Linked DNA regions of Homo sapiens: regions 1 and 3 are each linked to region 2. Evidence: promoter capture Hi-C in human tissues and cell types (Jung and others, 2019). All regions are on one chromosome and are shown on one strand. Each heading gives the region's core, a stretch centred on a gene start or on the middle of the fragment in contact. The rest is flanking DNA. Distances are from core to core; before and after follow the strand shown. Region 1 has its middle 30 kb from the start of ZHX1-C8orf76. Region 2 holds the start of C8orf76 (chromosome 8 open reading frame 76). Region 3 overlaps FAM83A (family with sequence similarity 83 member A).

What was found. Contacts are between HindIII fragments. The study calls those that stand out against the background at their distance.
Region 1: a fragment that was not itself captured here is called in contact with the fragment with the promoter of C8orf76 in region 2 in 1 of the 25 tissues and cell types used here (IMR-90 fibroblasts).
Region 3: a fragment that was not itself captured here is called in contact with the fragment with the promoter of C8orf76 in region 2 in 3 of the 25 tissues and cell types used here (IMR-90 fibroblasts, aorta and thymus).

Annotation. Positions count from the first base shown.
Region 1 is chr8:123,302,741-123,305,440 of GRCh38, reverse strand. No RefSeq gene overlaps it. Among named protein-coding and RNA genes, the nearest start is that of ZHX1-C8orf76, 30 kb to the right of the region's middle. The HindIII fragment of the contact is 3,571 bases long and covers 1-2,700 here.
Region 2 is chr8:123,239,982-123,242,681 of GRCh38, reverse strand. C8orf76 (chromosome 8 open reading frame 76) reads left to right here and starts at 1,305. Exons shown (of 6, transcript NM_032847.3): 1 at 1,305-1,452. The coding sequence starts at 1,336. The region is part of intron 2 of ZHX1-C8orf76 (ZHX1-C8orf76 readthrough); the gene reads left to right. RefSeq lists a silencer at 1,399-1,518 and an enhancer at 1,019-1,519. The HindIII fragment of the contact is 18,562 bases long and covers 1-2,700 here.
Region 3 is chr8:123,188,711-123,191,410 of GRCh38, reverse strand. All of the region lies in intron 1 of FAM83A (family with sequence similarity 83 member A), which reads right to left. Among named protein-coding and RNA genes, the nearest start is that of FAM83A-AS2, 7.3 kb to the right of the region's middle. The HindIII fragment of the contact is 6,941 bases long and covers 1-2,700 here.

The DNA.
Region 1 (2,700 bases), core at 56-2,555, 63 kb before region 2:
GTTTTACAACTTAAGGAACTAGAAGAAAAAAAGCAAACAACCAAAAGCTAACAGAAAAAAAGAAATATTAAAGATTAGAGCAGAGAAAAACAACATAAGGAATAGAAGAACAACAGAGAAAATTAATGAAACTAAACATTGGTTCTTTGAAACAATGCAATCAACAAACTTTTAGCTGGATGGACTAGGAAAAGATGAGAGAAGACACGTTACTAAAGTCAGAAATTAGGCCGGGCACAGTAGCTCACGCCTGTAATACCATTTTGGGAGACCAAGGCAGGTGGATCACTTGAGGTCAGGAGTTCGAGACCAGCCTAGCCAACATGGTGAAACCCTGTCTCTACTAAAAATACAAAAATTAGCCAGGTGTGGTGGGCACCTGTAATCCCAGCTACTCAGGAGGCTGAGGCAGGAGAATTGCTTGAACCTGGGAGGTGGAGGTTACATTGAGATGAGATCGGACCACTGCACTCCAGCCCGGGAGACAGAGTGAAACTCTATCTCAAAAATAAGTAAATAAATACATAAATAAATGAAATAAAGTCAGAAATGAAAATGGGGACATTATTACTGATGTTACAGAAATATAAAGGATTATAATAGTACTGTGAGCAATTATATGCCAACAAGTTGGATACACTAGATGAAATGGACACATTTACAGAAACACAAAACCTACCAACACTAAATCATAGAGAAATAGAAAATCTGAATAGATCAATAACAAAGAGACTGAATTTGTAATCAAAAATTTCCTGATAAAGAAAAACCCTGGACCTGATGGCTTCACCAGTGAATTCTAGCAAACATTTAAAGAACTATACCAATCCTCAAACTTTTCTAAAAAAAAAAAATTATTTTAACAAAGGAACACTTTCTAACTCATTCTGTAGCCAGAATTGTCCTGATACCAAATCCAAAGACAGTACCTAAGAAAACTACAGACAAATATTTGTAGTTTTCTTTAGTATCCTTTACAAACACTGATGTAAAAATCCTCCATAAAATACTAGCAAACTGAATTCAGCAGCATATTAAAAGGATTGTAGGCCAGGCGTGTGGCTCACTCCTGTAATCCTAGCACTTTGGGAGGCCAAGGTGGGTGGATCACTTGTGGTCAGGAGTTCGAGACCAGACCAGTCAACATGGTGAAACCCCATCCCCACTAAAAATACAAAAAATTAGCCGGGCGTGGTGGCTCACGCCTGTAATCCCAGCTACTTGGGAGGCTGAGGCAGGAGAATTGCTTGAACTCAGGAGGCAGAGGTTGCAGTAACTCAAGATCATGCCACTGCACTCTAGCCTGGGTGACAGAGTGAGACTCCATATCAATTAAAAAAAAAAAAAAGGATTGTACGCCATGACTAAGTAAGATGTATTCCTGGAATGCAAGGATGATTCAATATACAAAAATCGATCAATGTAATACACTAAATTAGCAGAATGAAGGGGAAAAACACATGATCATCTCAGTTGATTCAGTAAAAAGGCATTTGACAAAATTTAGCACCCTTTTATTATAAAAACACTCAACAAACTAGGAATAGCAGGAAACTACCTCAACGTAAAGCTATATGTGAAAATCCACAGCAAACATCATACCCAATTGTGAAAGACTGAAAGCTTTTCCTCCAAGATCAGGGAGAAGACAAGGAAGCCCACTTTTGCAACTTCTATTCAATGTAGTACTGGAGGTTCTAGCCAGAGCATTTAGGAAAAAAAATAAAATAAAAAGCATTTATGTTGGAAAGGAAGAAGTAAAACTATCTGTTTGCAGATAGACCTTATAAGCAGAAAAAAACAAAGATTACATGCACACACACACACACCAAAGAAAAAACTGTTAAGAGCTAGTAAGTGAATTCAGCAAAGTAGCAGGTTACCAAGTCAACACACAAAATCAACTGCATTTCTAAACACAATGAACAATCTGAAAAGGAAATTGCAAGAACAATTCCATTTACAATAGCAACAAAAAGAATAAAATATTTGATATTAGCTGAACCAAGGAGGTGAAAGACTTGTACAATGAAAACTACAAGCCATTGCTGAAAGAAATTAGTGAAGACATATATAAATTGAAACACATCCCATGTTCATGGATTAGAAGACTTAATACTGTCAATGAGGTCAACATAACCCCAAGTGATCTACAAATTCAATGCAATCCCCATTAAAACCCCAATGACTTTTCGGGATTTTTTTTTTTTTTTGCAAAAATAGGAAAACCCATTCTAAATTTCATATGGAATCTCACAACACCTTGAATAGCCAAAACCATATTGAAAAAGAAGAGCCGGGTGCCGTGGCTCACGCCTGTAATCCCAGCACTTTGGGAGGCTGAGGCGGGCAGATCACGAGGTCAGGAGATCGAGACCATCCTGACTAACACGGTGAAACCCCGTCTCTACTAAAAATACAAAAACTTAGCCAGGCACGGTGGCGGGCGCCTGTAGTCCCAGCTACTCGGGAGGCTGAGGCAGGAGAATGGTGTAAACCCGGGAGGCAGAGCTTGCAGCGAGCCGAAATCGTGCCACTGCACTCCAGCCTGGGTGACAGAGCAAGACTCCGTCTCAAAAAAAATAAAAAAGAAAAAGAAAAAGAAGAACAAAGCAGGAGGATTCATACTTCCTGATTTCAAAACTTACTGCAAAGCCGCAGTAATCAAAATGGTGTGGTACTAGCATAAAGACAGACATA
Region 2 (2,700 bases), core at 56-2,555:
TCTAGAGTCAAGAAATATCTTAAAAGTATAAGAATTGTAGTAAATGTTAGTCTTAGAATTTTGAGATTTGGTGTTCTCCAGGTCGAATGAATGCTCCCTGATCTAGCCTCCCACGGTATATTTCTGTGTCTTTTCTTTCATAAATGCGTGAATGACTCCGGTCTTTGTTATTGGTGGTAGTGTCTCTTGTCCGGAAGCACGGAGAGTACGCATTCATTTCTGTATTTCCCAAGTTTCAGCCACATAATGACCGAAACTTAACAAGTTACTTAACCTCTCCAAACTCCAATATCTTCAAAATAGGATTTGCAAAATGGGAATCACTTTGGCTTTCATAAGGTGGTTGTTAGCCGAAAAGAAAAAATGTGCTTAACACAGTGACGGGAATGCACAGTGGTTGACAATTGGTACTTGCACCGGGCTTAGTGGCTCACGCCTATAATCCCAGCACTTTGGGAGAACGAGGTGGGCGGATCGCTTGAGATCAGGTTCGAGACCAGCCTGGGCAACGTAGGGAAACCCAGTCTCCACAAAAAATACACAAGTTAGACGGTCATGGTGGCGCGCGCCTGTAGCCCCAGCTACTTGGGGGACTGAGGCGGGATGATAGGTTGAGTCTGGGAGTTCGAGGCTGCAGTGAGCCATGATCTCACCACTGCACTCCAACCTGGGCGACAGAGCGAGACCCTGTCTCGAAATTATTTTATTTATTTTATTTTATTTTATTTTTTATTTTGAGACGAAGTTTCACTCTTGTTGCCTAGGCTGGAGTGCAATGATGCGATCTTGGCTCACCGCAACCTCCGCCTCCCGGGTTCAAGCGATTCTCCTGCCTCAGCCTACCGAGTAGCTGGGATTACAGGCGCGCGCCACTACGGCCGGCTAATTTTTGTATTTTCAGTACAGACCTGGTTACTCAATGTTGGTCAGGCTGGTCTCGAACTCCCGACCTCAAGTGATCCGCCCACCTTGGCCTCCCAAAGTGCTGGGATTACAGGCTTGAGCCACCGCGCCCGGCCTCTTATTTTAATTTTTAAAAAGGTACCTGCGAGTTTTAAACAGCTACTCTGGGGCCAGCGTGCTTTTTGATGCGTGCAGGTAAGGATCATTCTGTCCATCTCCTGACACAGAGAAGTCAAAACCTCCGTCCTGGGGTTCGGTCAGTTAGTGGGTCAGATAATCATCTCAGCTCAACCACTACTCCCAACCAGCAGCGGCCACGTCCCCGCGTCGCCCTCAAAGACTACAAGTCCCAGCGTGCCGCGCTCTGGGCCGTGGAAGCCCCGCCTTTTCCGGCGGGCCCCGCTTCCTCGTTGCCCCCGCCGCGGGCGCGAGATGGATTCCGGGTGCTGGTTGTTCGGCGGCGAGTTCGAGGACTCGGTGTTCGAGGAGAGGCCGGAGCGGCGGTCAGGACCGCCCGCGTCCTACTGCGCCAAGCTCTGCGAGCCGCAGGTGAGAAGCTGGGGCCTCTTCGCCTTATCCCGGGCCCCAGGCCTCGCCCTCCGCGGGGCCCCGGCCCCGGCCTCGGCCCCTCCGTCCGCGCGAACGCAAACCCTGGCAGGCTCCAGCGCCCGCCGCGTCCCCCGCCGTCCCTCCTCCTCCACGGGGAAGCGGCTTTCCCAGGCCCCATTCCGGGTCCATGGGCGAGAATCCCCGCGTTGTAAGCGGCTTGACTCCCACTTGGCATTTGGCCGGCCTGGCTGCTGCCGGCTGGTCTCAACGCCCCTGCCCTGCAATCTCCGGTACCTCCCGTTTGTCTTCACTGCTCTTACAGCTGGGCAGTCAGGCCTCCCAAAACGGTGACCTCCGGCAAACCCACTCTCCCCTCCCTCTTCGGCGAGCTCCCCCTGCCCGTACCAACCCCGCGCTGATGGTTAAAGTCCTTCAGTTATATCCGTTTTTCAAGGCACATCTTAAATGTCATCTCCTCTAGGAAGTCTTTTCTGATTTCGTCTTCCAGCCAAATATTTTTGTCTTTGGCCCCCTTCCCTCTATTTAGCTTCTACTTAAAGCACTTGTCAGTATTCCCACAAAGTCCTGAGACCCGGAGTGCTAAATGATCGCACCAGCATGGGTTCTTGATGCCCTTGGCAGTGCCTAACAGTTTTTATTAATAATAGTGACTCCGCGAATATTTTTGAATTAGTAGAGTATTACTTCCTATTCTTTCATGAGTGTAAATAGTTCATCAGTCAAAACTAATATTTATGGAAAATACGGAAGTGTTCCGGGCACTGTGGTGGGTTCCTTCGCATATACTGTCTCATTCGTTCCTCACAATTGTACTGACAAGATGCCAGGCACTCGATAATTACTGAATTGTGTTTTTGGTTATTTCAGTTGCATTTTCTCCTTATCACATACGATCTTTCAAAGTTACCTTCAGCCCTGGATCATGTAGACTCAAAACAGGGATTGGGCTTGGAAATCATGTGGCAGAACATTAAAAAAACTCTGGTTATGAGATAGGACTCTTGAATTCCAGTGTTGGCTTTAACCACTTGCCTTGAAGGTGTCAGCTCCTTATTTGTCCCTTCAGAAAAATAATACATGCTGGCTCACAGAGTTATCGTGGGAGTGAAATGAGATAATGTATATGAAAATACTTTGTCAGATCTGATGTGCTGTACAGGTGCATAGAATTTAATATAAATTCTAAAATGAAGTGATTTTTTTCTTTTCTTTTTTTTTTTTTTGAGG
Region 3 (2,700 bases), core at 33-2,532, 51 kb after region 2:
GAGGGCACACTATGGCCACTGATTTTCAAATGCTGTTAAGCCGTGGAATCCTATCCTCAAACAAAATCCCATGTGGAGGCACCGTATATAAGCGCCTAGAGCAAGCTGCTCCCCGTGGGATGGAGAAGGGAGTCACGCTCTACCCACAGCTACTGCATCATGTGTCACAGTAGAAACTGGGGAGGGGAGTTCTAGACCTTCAGTGAGCAGGAGAGACATCTGTGTTCCTCCTGCCAAGCATTCATTCTCCCTTCTTCTGTCAACAGCATCCCAATCTGACTTTAAGTAATTGCCTCCCCTCCACAATCAATGTGGTTTGGAAGGGTCTATTGCCATTCTTTGACTGGATATGGGGAGACCACATGACCAAGGCTAGACCAATGGGAGCATGGCATCCCCTGTTGGCCACAGACATTGGTCCAGAGGTGGTCACATGATCTAAGTTATTCTAATAAGAGTCAGCCCAGGACTTTAGCTGGGACTCCTGGGAAAAGGAGGTGTTCTTTCTACGAGGTTGCTTAGCTGGTATTTTATAAGCAATGGCTGCTGGCAACCATTTTTGCTACCTCTTGGGGAGAGCCTGCCTGACAATGAAGCCATCCCTGGAGAAAGCAGCCAGGAGGTAGAGACAGAGTCCCAGCATTGTCATTTGGACACCTGGTTCCAGCCATGCCTGAGACCAGTGCCACCCTTGACTTTTCCACTGTGGATGTTAATGAATGTTTCTCTTCTTCTTAAGCTTGTTTGGGTTTACTCTCTGTCACCCAGTCATGAGTCCTTTCTAATACCTTAATTGTGATATACTGACAAGCAGCTTATTAGGCAGTCATTAAAAATGTTAATTACTGCCGGGCGCGGTGGCTCACGCCTGTAATACCAACACTTTGGGAGGCCGAGGCGGGCGGATCATTTGAGATCTGGAGCTCGAGACCAGCCTGATCAACATGGTGAAAGCTCGTCTCTACTAAAAAAAAAAAAAAAAATTAGCTGGACTGGTAGTGCACGCCTATAGTCCCAGCTACTGGGGAGGCTGAGGCAAGAGAATCGCTTGAACCCAGGAGGCAGAGGTTGCAGTGAGCCGAGATCGCACCACTGCACTCCAGCCTGGGTGACAGAAAGAGACTCTGTCTCAAAATAAAAAAATAAGAAAATACATAAAAATTTAAAATGTTAATTTTCTTTCTTTCTTTCTTCTTTCTTTCTTTCTTTTCTTTCTTTTCTTCCTCTCTCTCTTTCATTTTTTTTCTGTAGACATGGGGTTTCACTATGTTGCCCAGGCTGGTCTCGAACTGTTGGGCTTAAGCAATCCTTAAGCCTCAGCCTCCCAAATTGCTGGGATTACAGGAGTGAGCCACCCCACCTGCTCCATTATAATCTTATGGGAGCACTGTCATAGATGTGGTCTGTTAGTAACCAAAATGTCATTATTCCGTACATGATTGTAGGTAAGCCCAAAGCAAAAACTAACAGTCATGTTAGGATGGGGGATGTGAACCCAGAAAATAAAACAGGGCTCAGTTAATTTAGAAAGTTTATTTTGCCAAGGTTGAGGACATGCCCGAGGAAGTCCTGACGACATGTGCCCAAGGTGGTCGGGGCACAGCTTGATTTTATACATTTTAGGGAGACATGAGACATCAATTAATAGATGTAAGAAGTACTTTGGTTCAATCTGGAAAGGTGGGACAACTGGAAGCAAAGGCAGGAAGACTCAAAGCCAGGAGGGAGCATCCAGGCCACAGATAAGTAAGACAAAAACTGTTGCATTCTTTTGAGTTTCTGATTAGTCTTTCCAAAGGAGGCATCAGATATGCATCTATCTCAGTGAGCAGAGCGGTGACTTTGAATAGAATGGGAGGCAGGTTTGCCCTAAGCAGTTTCCAGCTTGAGTTTTCCTTAGTGATTTTGGGGGCCAAAGATACTTTCCTTTCACAGGGAATACGGCCATTCCCTTTCTTCAAGATTACCTGTAATAATAAGTTTCCACTATCTTTCTAATCATTGCAATATATTTTTTAAAACCACCGCCATCTGGGAAGTAGCCAAGGAAAGAGAGGTGTCTTACTGGCAGGCCAAACTGATGGCTGGTATCCACTTGGAATCAACTTTCTGTGATGTGGATGGATAGCTGGACAGGGGAGGGAACTCCTCAGAGATTGCTCACCCTGGGCAGGAAATCGGAAAAGATGTTCTAATAATGAGGCTGTGATCATTAGAACCATGGCCCTGTAATCACACAATTAATTGTCTTGCACACATTTAGCCTTATAGCACTGAAAGCAGCTTAGGCTTTCCCTGTTTGCTGAAAGATAAATGCCTCCTCTTCCAAGGTATTGACAAAAGAAACAATTCCCTCCCTCCCTGATAGGTCAGTAAGTACTTCCAGTTCTATGCCAATGAATCATCATTTTCCTGAGACAGGGCTGGTGAGCTGGTGATTGAACAGAGACAGGGGCAGGTTTGGAAATAACCCAGCATCTTGAATTAAAGGATGCTTGGAAATACAGGCTCACCCTGTCTAGGTTTATCTTGTTTGCTTCCTGTTGGGATTGTCTTCCAGCTGGATTAATTTGAAGCCAGTAACTGGTTTGGACCACTGTTCTTCCTAAGAAGGTATAGTGGGTTGAAGGCCAGGCACGGTGGCTTATGCCTATAATCCCAGCGCTTTGGGAGGCCGAGGCTGGTGTATTGCTTGAGGCC